3 separate regions of the Homo sapiens genome follow, and regions 2 and 3 are each linked to region 1. The links are contacts of gene promoters, found by promoter capture Hi-C in blood cells and fetal thymus (Javierre and others, 2016). All regions are on one chromosome and are shown on one strand. The core of a region is centred on a gene start or on the middle of the fragment in contact, and the rest is flanking DNA. Distances in the headings are between cores, read along the strand shown.

Region 1 (3,628 bases), core at 596-3,095:
TCTTGCTCTCGTATTCACAAAAACCAGGGGCCGGCCTGCCACCAGGTACCCATCCAAAGAAAAGCTAGAGACAAATATATAGGAAAGGTTAAATAGTAGGTTTTTGTTGTGAGGGGCCTTATGAAAATTAAAAAGGTATAAAAATATTCGGAAAATAAGCACTGTGCAAATTCAGTGAATCTAAAATCCCTTATTTAATAGTAAAACTGCAGTGCAGAATTATGCTATAAATCATAGTGTTTTCCTATTAAGAAATACTTCTGATTTAAGTTTGATGTTTCCCCATTGCTTGGGGTGAGATGGGGGAATGTTGGAGTAGGGGAATAGTCAGAGATGGATGGCAAAGATTGGTAATAAGTTGTTACTGACCTGCAGAGTTTACAGCTTGAAAGAAAAACTGTAGGAGTTAAGATCCTCTTTCCTAGGAATCCATGCCATGAGAAGTTTAGGGATTGAAGTAGTGCCTGCTGACATGTGAAAACCGGCCTGTAAACTTTGCAAGCGATCCAGTAAATTATGCTTGTTCTAGTGGGAACCACCCCCCCCAACTCCGCATTCCAATCCCCAGGCCAGAATCATCAAAGTTGGCAAAAAATATTCATGGAGAGTAAGCAGGCTGTAGCAAGATAGGCTCTTCAGCAGGCAATCTTTGCTTCCTCCCACGTTATGACTGTCTTTCTTGCCAGTTCCCTAGGCAGATCAGACCCTTCACTTCCCAGTTGGCCTCCCTTCCCCAAGTGAATGTGACTTCTTACAGAACACAATTACCTATGTTGTCTGCCAAACTGGATTTTGTTTTGTTTTGTTTTGTGTTAAATATCAGCCCATTTTCACGACTCTGCAATTATGACAATATGTGGTAGGAAACCATTACTGTCAGCTCCAGTCTGAAACTGGCCACTTACCAATACACTTTGCCAGGAACAAGTCTTTCTGGATGGATACTACGTGGTTAACAACATGTAAAGATAAACGGCTAAACAAAATATCAACATTTTCTTACAAGGCTCAGCTTAAGGACAGAACAGTGATGTGCAATGGTTTTCATGTTGTATCCACAAACACAATTCTGTATAAGACACACTCCTCTTTTTTTAATGGTTGCTTAAACAAGTGGTTATCCGTTATGCTGTTGACATAGGAAACGGTGAAATGCTAGTAACCGAATCAAAGCGGCAGTGCAACAGGCCGCTCGGTGGTGCGCATTGTGTGGTTTGGTTCCTTGGATGGACACACTTGCTTTACGCTTCATCCCAATTTTTGTCCCAACCTCTTAGTGTATCTTCCTGGGAATAGTAAAAACAAAGCAAAACATTCTGGTCTTACTTCAAGCTGCCTTTGCACTGTTATTCCCTTGTTCCGCTCATTTCACGGGATTGGGTTCTCCTAACTTCATTGTTTGGTGAGTTGCTTTGCTTTGCTCGTTGCCCCGATCTTCTGTGTATTCTGCGCAGACCCCGCAAGTGCTCCTGCACTCCCTCCCAGCCCTCTGCTGGGGCTTAACGCTTCCCAGCCGAGGTCAGACTGCCGTGCGCTTCGAGTACCGGACCCCGAGGAAGCGAGAAACGCCGCTCCCGCCGGTCGCGGGCAGCTTCAGTACACCGGCAACACGCGCGCCTCTGCCCAGTGCCGCGCCCAGCGGGTGCTCAGACTCCTTCTCTCCCTCCCCGCCGGCGCGCCCCAGGGACTCGGAACGCCCCCGCGAGTGTGACGCGTCCTGCCTCCCCTGCAGCTCGCGGACACTCGCACTTGCAAGGCCTGGCCAGCACTCTTGGGCCCGCCCCCCGACAGTGCGGGGGCGGAGACGACGGCTCCCCTAGGCTCTGGCTCCCGGCCTTGGCCGGCGCGGGTAGGCGCGGGAGCCTCGAGCGCCGCTCGGATGCAGCAGCCGAGCCGCCACTCGGCGCGCGGCGGGAGACCCAGGGCAAGCCGCCGTCGGCGCGCTGGGTGCGGGAAGGGGGCTCTGGATTTCGGTCCCTCCCCTTTTTCCTCTGAGTCTCGGAACGCTCCGGCTCTCAGACCCTCTTCCTCCCAGGTAAAGGCCGGGAGAGGAGGGCGCATCTCTTTTCCAGGCACCCCACCATGGGCAATGCCTCCAATGACTCCCAGTCTGAGGACTGCGAGACGCGACAGTGGCTTCCCCCAGGCGAAAGCCCAGCCATCAGCTCCGTCATGTTCTCGGCCGGGGTGCTGGGGAACCTCATAGCACTGGCGCTGCTGGCGCGCCGCTGGCGGGGGGACGTGGGGTGCAGCGCCGGCCGCAGGAGCTCCCTCTCCTTGTTCCACGTGCTGGTGACCGAGCTGGTGTTCACCGACCTGCTCGGGACCTGCCTCATCAGCCCAGTGGTACTGGCTTCGTACGCGCGGAACCAGACCCTGGTGGCACTGGCGCCCGAGAGCCGCGCGTGCACCTACTTCGCTTTCGCCATGACCTTCTTCAGCCTGGCCACGATGCTCATGCTCTTCGCCATGGCCCTGGAGCGCTACCTCTCGATCGGGCACCCCTACTTCTACCAGCGCCGCGTCTCGCGCTCCGGGGGCCTGGCCGTGCTGCCTGTCATCTATGCAGTCTCCCTGCTCTTCTGCTCGCTGCCGCTGCTGGACTATGGGCAGTACGTCCAGTACTGCCCCGGGACCTGGTGCTTCATCCGGCACGGGCGGACCGCTTACCTGCAGCTGTACGCCACCCTGCTGCTGCTTCTCATTGTCTCGGTGCTCGCCTGCAACTTCAGTGTCATTCTCAACCTCATCCGCATGCACCGCCGAAGCCGGAGAAGCCGCTGCGGACCTTCCCTGGGCAGTGGCCGGGGCGGCCCCGGGGCCCGCAGGAGAGGGGAAAGGGTGTCCATGGCGGAGGAGACGGACCACCTCATTCTCCTGGCTATCATGACCATCACCTTCGCCGTCTGCTCCTTGCCTTTCACGGTAAGTCACTCCCTACGTTTCCACAGCCCGGCTCTGCTCAGCCTTCTCATGCTCTCCCCTGACGCCTCCACCCTTTCCACCGCCCTACAAACTTTTTGCAACTTGTAAAAATATGTCCTAATTTGTAAAGATCTGTAGCCTTCCCCACTAGTTTCCCCTCCTCTTTAGCCCACTTCCTTATCCTGGCTTATGGGCGTTGCTAGGCTAGAGTTTCTTATACAATAATACAGACCGTCCGAAAGGGAGTCCTGGGCCTCAGCTAAGCTAGCCAATCTCCTCATCCTAGCCCTGGGCAGTGTCCCTTTCTCGCTGTTGCCTATCTTGGCTTAGTAATTGAGAAAGAGGCAGCCCCTTCCACCTTAGGATGGCTGTCACTGTTCCAGCCTGACGACCTGGAGCTGCAGTTTGCTGCCCTGTACCTCTCATCCACTGGTGCTGGTTCTCCATGCTTGCCTTCTGTTCCTGCCAGGGCAAAATGTAGTACCCAACCCATAGCATTCCAGCTGCCATTGAAAATGGTCCCAGATGAGAAGGGTCCCTGAAGCAGAAGTTTAGAGCATTTGTTATTTGTCCTAAAAGTCCAACAAACATCTAGTTTATAGGTTTCCCAATTTATATATTTGAATGTAACTCTTTGTGGCCATGAAAGTTTATAAAACCATAATGATAACTAGAGGAAATACTTGGAGGAACATCTTGCTAA
Region 2 (3,419 bases), core at 610-3,109, 310 kb before region 1:
GTTGGGTTAAAGATCAGCTTATTTCACCCTCCCTATAGAACAGACAGTAAATTGTTCTGGTGTAATAAAGTCAATCATTCATTCATTCATTCCTTCAGCAAAACTATGCTTTGGAAGGCAGTGTAAGTAAAGGCTTAGCCAAATCTCTTTGCTCTTGTTTGTAAAGTAAAATTTAGTTTTATTTTTAATGCTCCCAATTTTAATTTTGGTGTCATCTCAAAAGATACCAGCCTATAACAATTTAGTGGAGTTCTTACAGTCTAGTGTACTTATAAGCATTTATAACTACTATTTGAGGCATATGGTAGTTTTCAGGGGTAGCTTGGTGGCCTGTTGGCAAAGGAAAAAAAAGTGGAGCCTCTGGTACTAGATGAACATATAAAGCCACTCAGTACAATTCTGCTCTTTAATTTTGCTCACTTGTGCTTTCGTACCCATTGGTTTCTTCAGACTTACATGTGTTAGCTGTTTTAAAGCAGACAGAGCCTACGTAGATTTACATTACTAGATAAGGCAAGAATTGAGCAGTGACTAAAGCATTTGAATAGTAACAGGTTGTAACATTGAAAGATTGAAAGTACGGGTAGTGTGTTTTTCTTGGCAGTGATTTTATATAATCAGCAGGAAGTACAGACTGTCCTCATTTTAGAATTTGTTTCTGTGAAGTTTGGCATCACCATAGTCACCATCTTTAGTATGTCCATAGGTGCTGAGTGGTTTAGTTTTTCATTTTCCTAGACTGTTTGTTTCAAAGTAACTTCCAAGTCAAGTCTTGAAAGTTAAATTATACATAATTATACATAATCTTGGCAAACACCATGCTGGCTGAAAGGTTCGTACAATTTGTAAAGACAAATTAATGTGCTCAGAAATGGAATATAAGGTACTATTTTTGCCGTTTATACTGTTGCTTACTGTCGCCAAAATAAGACAGTAACAGCCTGGCTCAACTTGCCTTCCATAGCAGTAATGACAAGGCACTGCTGCAATAAGGATATATTGTTTTGTATGCCTGGGCTAAAGGATTGGATGAGCTATAGAGCTTCCTGGTACATTTAAAGGTTAACTTTTCCCCCTAACCGGTTGAAATAGGGAAAACTCGCTAATCACAATCATCACAAAGCAAATATAAACAAAATTCCTAGTTCCCTTGCCCATGCAGCTAAAAGAGTTAAGACACCAGAATAGCTAGGTGCTTTTCAGTTTCAGTTGAGGAAAGGATGCTATTCTTAACCATAAATACTCTCATTTTGTCTTTCTTTTTTTAAAGGGCTTACCTGTTGCTTTAGACAAACATATTCTTGGTTTTGACACAGGAGGTAAGTGATTTTGTTTAAATTCAAACTATTTTTTTTACAGACTGAATACTTGGGAGGAAATAAATGGCCTTAAATGTAAAAATTATGTATTGAAGCAGTGTTCTTTTCTCATAAAACAGATGCAGTTCTTAATGAAGCTGCTCAAATTCTGCGATTGCTGCACATAGAGGAGCTCAGAGAGCTACAGACAAAAATCAACGAAGCCATAGTAGCTGTTCAGGCAATTATTGCTGATCCAAAGACAGACCACAGACTGGGAAAAGTTGGAAGATGAACACTTGAGGACTTCAGCTTCTCACCTACTTAGTACAGTTGGGAACCATACACTTCTGGCATGTTTGGAAATCAAAATGTCACATTCTCGGGGGAGGAAGCCCAGAAAATTGGGTATGTTCTAGAGATTTACCACCATTGCTTATTGCTTTTTTCTTTAATAAAGTTTAGGAAAGTAGAATTTTTATTATGTACTGTATGTTTGCATAAATCACCTTTCTCCTTTGTGGTTAAGGCATATATGCCAACCCCCAGCTTTGTCCTAGAGACAATATAGATCCTTAAGTCATAGGAAAACTTAAAACACTTTATTGGAGTAATCTAGAAAATTTTAAAATTGTTACATCTTTGGTATTTATAAATGTGATACTTTACTTTCTGTGGGTACTTCTATAGAGGCACTACAGGATCAGAAAATGCAAATTGAATCATTTTAGCACCTTTTGATATAAATAGAAATGCACTGATGCAGAGGTAAAAAATCTTAGAACTTTTGTTGGGAAACTATAAATAATTGGTCCTTTCCCATCAGTTCTGCATTGGCTTCTCCAACTGTCAAGGTTTAGGATTATATTGTTATATTGATCACATGTGCTTTAATTTCTTGGCCAGAAGGAATCCATGGCAAAAATCAGGTTTAGAGTCTTAAACTCTAATTCTTAGTTGAATGAATTTGATCTTTTAAATATTAATGATAAATGTTTACAAGAAGTTGCTTTAATAAGCAACAGTTAAAATTCTGTTACCTTTTTAAACTTGCAATAACAACCTTCATTTTTAAAAATACAGTAGTAAAGATTGAGGTATCAGCTTTTCACAAAAGTCTTTTTGCACTACAAAATGTTCATCTTGGATGCTCAGGAACGTCTAATGGCCAATTCCTTTTTTACTTTCTTTGCCTTTGCAGTCACTGTTCTTTAGGGTCCAGGTTCTGATTGTAAACTCCAAGTCTTCCTTTACATTACTGTACTTACTTTCTTCCTGTGAGAGAAGAGCAGGGGTGGGACAGGGTGGTGGGTGAGTATATTGTAACCAAGTTGCAACAGCAAGTCTTTGCATTTTGTGTATAAACTAGGTAGATTTAAGGTAGTAAAGACTGGCCCTCAGGGCAGGAAGAAGGCAATGGTGGCAGTGTCACAGGCAGCAGGGGTAATCAAATACCATATATATCCCTTCTCTACCCTGCTAATTTAAAGGAGCATCCTAAAGCATACTTTTTACCTGTTGGGCAGTAGGGGTAGACTGCAGTTATCCCGTAGAGGTGAGATCGTTGTTCTGGGAGATACTCATCAGTAAACTGGCCACTATGTTTATTTACTGATACAACACCATCCCTGGTAACAGAAAGGAAGAGTGAATTCAGGGACAGTCATTTACTAGATAAAGAAGTCAGTCAGCCACAGAAAATCAGTTGCAATAGAGGAAAATTTCTGGCAGCCTTCTCTGTCCCAGGGCTGGTGCTAAAGCCATACTGAAGTTTGAAGACCATTGCTCTAAATCCATTGCTCATCTCTAGCTGCATGTTAGAATCACATGATGAGCTATCAAATCAGAGTTGTAGGGCATGGTGTAAAGGGCTTAGACTTTAATGTTCCACAGTTCCTCATTTGAGAACTAGTCTAAATAGTATTTTTCGGTCCCTCAGACAATATGTCCACAGTGTCAAAAGCCAACTTAAGCCCTGTAATATAGCTCATGGTATCAAGGGTAGTCTTATTCTCTAAAGAACATATTTAGATTAATATGCTCCCTTTTGAGACATTATCCAATAGCTTTGCTACTTTTTAAGCTATATGTGAGCAATACCATTCGATTTCTGGGTGAAGT
Region 3 (3,632 bases), core at 648-3,147, 330 kb after region 1:
TCAGAAAAATAATTGGATAAAAAAACTGCTTTTAAGCAATTTTTAATGTACAAATTCGATAAGATGAATATTAAAATTCAATGAGTAATTATAATTATGATTTTATACATACATATACACACTTTTTTTTTTTTTTTTTTGAGATGATGTCTTGCTCTGTCACCCTGGCTGGAGTGCAGTGGTATGATCTCGGCTCACTGCAACCTCTGCCTCCCGGGTTCAAGCGATTCTTCTGCCTCAGCCTCCTGAGTAGCTGGGACCACAGGCATGCTCCACCATGCCTGGCTAATTTTTTTTGATTTTAGTAGAGTTGGCCAGGCTGGTCTTGAACTCCTGGCCTCAAGTGATCCACCCACCTTGGCTTCTCAAAGTGCTAGGATTACAGGCATGAGCCACCGTGCCCGGCCCTAATTATGATTATAAAAGTCAATAGAGGAAAATAAAGACGATCATGTACTAATTGTATATGTCTACATACTGGAGGTATTTCATAATATCCCATAATTCTGTAATGAAATGATTTCTTCAAAAAAAATATTCCTGGCTGGGCACAGTGGCTCACGCCTGTAATCCAGCACTTCGGGAGGTGGAGCCTGGCAGATCACCTGAGGTCAGGAGTTCAAGACCAGCCTGGCCAACATGGTGAAACCGTGTTTCTACTAAAAATACACACACACACACACACACACACACACACACACACAAATTAGCCAGGCGTGGTGTCACGCACCTGTAATCCCAGCTACTTGGGAGGCTAAGTTGGGAGAATCGCTTGAACCCAGAAGGTGGAGGTCGCAGTGAGCCGAGATCACGCCACTGCACTCCAGCCTGGGCTACAGACCAAAACTCCGTCTCAAAAATAAATAAACAAATAAAATAAAAAGGATATTCCTTACCCAGTTTTTTCTGAGAGCATATATGTTGCATTAGACTTACTTGGCTACCAGAAGCATTTCAGTACATTCAAACTAACCTTCCAAATGCGTTGAATAATGATACTATTTCTTGTCTGGTTAGATGGAATTCATAACTAGGTCCACTTTCTGGCATATTTGCTATCAATTTCTCAGAAAATAAGATCTTCAGAGCAGTGCCCAAACCCTGAGTCTGTAATAGAAATAAGGAAAAAAGAAAAATTAGAAAATTATTCATGCAAAGGGTAAATGAGAAATAGGAATGACTAAATTTGCTTACCTGAAGCTTTCCCCACAGACGACATTTAAAACAACCAACACAATCCATAATTCTTGAAATATTTCTAAAATGCAGTCGAAAGTCCTCCTGAAAACAATTTAACAAGATTTTATTAAGATGTAATATACAGTCAATTAGTAAGTATTTTCTGAGCAGGTTCTATGTGCCTAACACTGTGCAAGGTACTATGGGGTACCAAAAATGAGAACAGCACTAATATTCATTGATTCTACATACCAGATCCTTACATACACAATCTCATTTAATCTTCACCACAAATCCAAAGGTAGTTATTATTATAATCTACACCTAATGAATGTAAAAAACAAGATTCAGAGTGTTTAGGTAACTTGCCTAAATTCCCACATCTAGTAAACAAAAAACTTAGAAACCAGGCCTGTCTGACTCCAAAGCTAAACTATCTGCAAAAATATACAAAATAACTTTGTCAAGGTGTCCATTGTAGGTGATTAACTATATGTCAATAGGTGGAGAAAGGAGGGTGAGACAGGGTTAGAGAGCATCATTTACCAGAAGGAATGGAGGGAGGGAATGAGAGAAGGCAGGAATGGAAAGGAAAAAAAAAATCCTTTGGTTTCTTTTTTTTTTTTTTTTTTTTTTTTTGAGAGTATCGCCCTGTCACCCAAGCTGGAGTGCAGTGGGGGAATCTCGCTCACTGCAAGCTCTGCCTCCCAGGTTCACACCATTCTCCTGCCTCAGCGTCCTGAGTAGCCGGGACTACAGGCACCTGCCACCACGCCCAGCTAATTTTTTTTTTTTTTTTTTTTTTTTTTTTTTTTTTTTTTTAGTAGAGGCAGGGTTTCACCATGTTAGCCAGGATGGTCTCGATCTCCTGACCTCGTGATCCGCCCACCTCGACCTCCCAAAGTGCTGGGATTACAGGCGTGAGCCACTGTGCCCAGCCCTTTGGTTTCATAATAATTCAACCACAGCCCTTCTTTCTGGTATGAATAAGGTAAACAATCAGGTCTTCCTTTGTTAATATTAAATTACTATTACTATTAAAATGCAAAAATATATAAAATATAGTGAATGCCACATACCCACTACCAAGTTTTAGAAAAATTTGTCACAAGTACAATCGAAGCCCCTCATGTTATCTCTCGAGTCCCATATCCCACCCTCTACTACTATATTGAATTTGGCATTGTTCCCTTTTTGTTTTTATGCTTTTAATACATATGTATACATCCATGAACCCTAGAATATTATATCATTTATAATAGGGCGACATGCATCCAGCTAATCTAAACATAGTATATGTCCTTAAGGAATATGGAAAAAAGAAGGGAAGCCAAGAACACATCCTTCTTTTCCTTCAATGGAAATTACCAACTGATCCTCCAAGAGACTCCTGTACTGGACTAAGAGGGGAATCTCAAGCTTACAGTATTCTTAGCAGGAAATCTGACATACATCTCAGATAGAACATCCATTATACAAATTGGCCTATAATTTAGGGAGCACACAGTATTTCTCTTATTCTAATGTGATAAACCACACACTAGGCTCAACCAGATGAAGGCAGGACCACAAATCTAAAATAGGAATAAATCAATGATTGGAACCCACTATTCAAAGGAAACCTCAATTTGCTCTGGAGACAGACTTTCCCAACATGCTTTATTCAGTTTGTGACTTTCAAACAGCTGTAACATGAAAGAAAGTTTTAATAGGATCTAAGATGTAATATCTTTATTAATTAAGACAAAGCCCAAATTGTTCATTGTTACCATATCTTAATAATATTCTCTATCTTGGTTTCAGTACCTGTACAGTAAGAGGTACTATTTTTTTTTTATTTTTATGACCACATGACATCCAAGCAACAGGTACTAATTTTAAACCTACTTAAAACTAACCGGTAATATTACTCTACAAAGATTCTGTGATCTGATTTTAGGTTGCCTTTAAACTAGAGCATTGACCAAAACTTAAAGAAAAATCACACTTTTAACAATAATAACAGAGTAAGAAAGTTACCCTAAAGAACATGTTCCCATCCTATGAGCTGTTGACTTCCAGAAGACTTAATGGTTATTATGAGGATCCACAGAATCCACATAGAGACAAGACTATATACCACAGAATAAATAGCTCACATATATGCACTATAAATTTCCAAATGGATAGAAATGTTATGATCAATAAAACACAACTTTTACTTTTAAAGTGTTACTAAATGCATGGTGGCTTTTTGGCAATCATATTTTCAAAATCAACAGATACTAAAAATACTCTGTCATGAGAAGAGGCCTTGAAAGTTCCTGAGTATAAGAGACTCCCATACTTGTGAGAGTTGGAAGCCTCTGTTCTAAAAGACTGTGCTTGCTTTTGTAGACGCTAATTTCAATGTTTGCTTCTACGTTAATTCAAATACTTGAATGTGACAGCTCTTGAGTAAGTCTTTGTATGAC

Evidence for each region. The method cuts DNA at HindIII sites, captures the fragments that hold promoters and counts their contacts. A CHiCAGO score of 5 or more calls a contact.
Region 2: a contact is called between a fragment that was not itself captured here and the fragment with the promoter of PTGER2 in region 1, in 1 of 17 cell types (naive CD8 T cells). The highest score is 5.1, in naive CD8 T cells.
Region 3: a fragment that was not itself captured here is called in contact with the fragment with the promoter of PTGER2 in region 1 in 2 of 17 cell types (M2 macrophages and megakaryocytes); the score reaches 6.3 in M2 macrophages.

The regions. Positions count from the first base shown.
Region 1 is chr14:52,312,467-52,316,094 of GRCh38, forward strand. PTGER2 (prostaglandin E receptor 2) reads left to right here and starts at 1,846. Exons shown (of 2, transcript NM_000956.4): 1 at 1,846-2,925. The coding sequence starts at 2,083. RefSeq lists enhancers at 1,076-1,636, 1,637-2,196, 2,431-2,580, 2,601-2,740 and a silencer at 1,801-1,910. The HindIII fragment of the contact is 17,361 bases long and covers 1-3,628 here.
Region 2 is chr14:52,002,924-52,006,342 of GRCh38, forward strand. It overlaps RTRAF (RNA transcription, translation and transport factor), which reads left to right. Exons shown (of 8, transcript NM_016039.3): 7 at 1,271-1,319; 8 at 1,439-3,419. The coding sequence ends at 1,593. It overlaps NID2 (nidogen 2), which reads right to left. Exons shown (of 22, transcript NM_007361.4): 21 at 2,814-2,926; 22 at 1,886-2,573. The coding sequence ends at 2,563. Among named protein-coding and RNA genes, the nearest start is that of RTRAF, 15 kb to the left of the region's middle. The HindIII fragment of the contact is 8,552 bases long and covers 1-3,419 here.
Region 3 is chr14:52,645,181-52,648,812 of GRCh38, forward strand. It overlaps ERO1A (endoplasmic reticulum oxidoreductase 1 alpha), which reads right to left. Exons shown (of 16, transcript NM_014584.3): 14 at 1,195-1,281; 15 at 974-1,107. Among named protein-coding and RNA genes, the nearest start is that of ERO1A, 49 kb to the right of the region's middle. The HindIII fragment of the contact is 1,398 bases long and covers 1,199-2,596 here.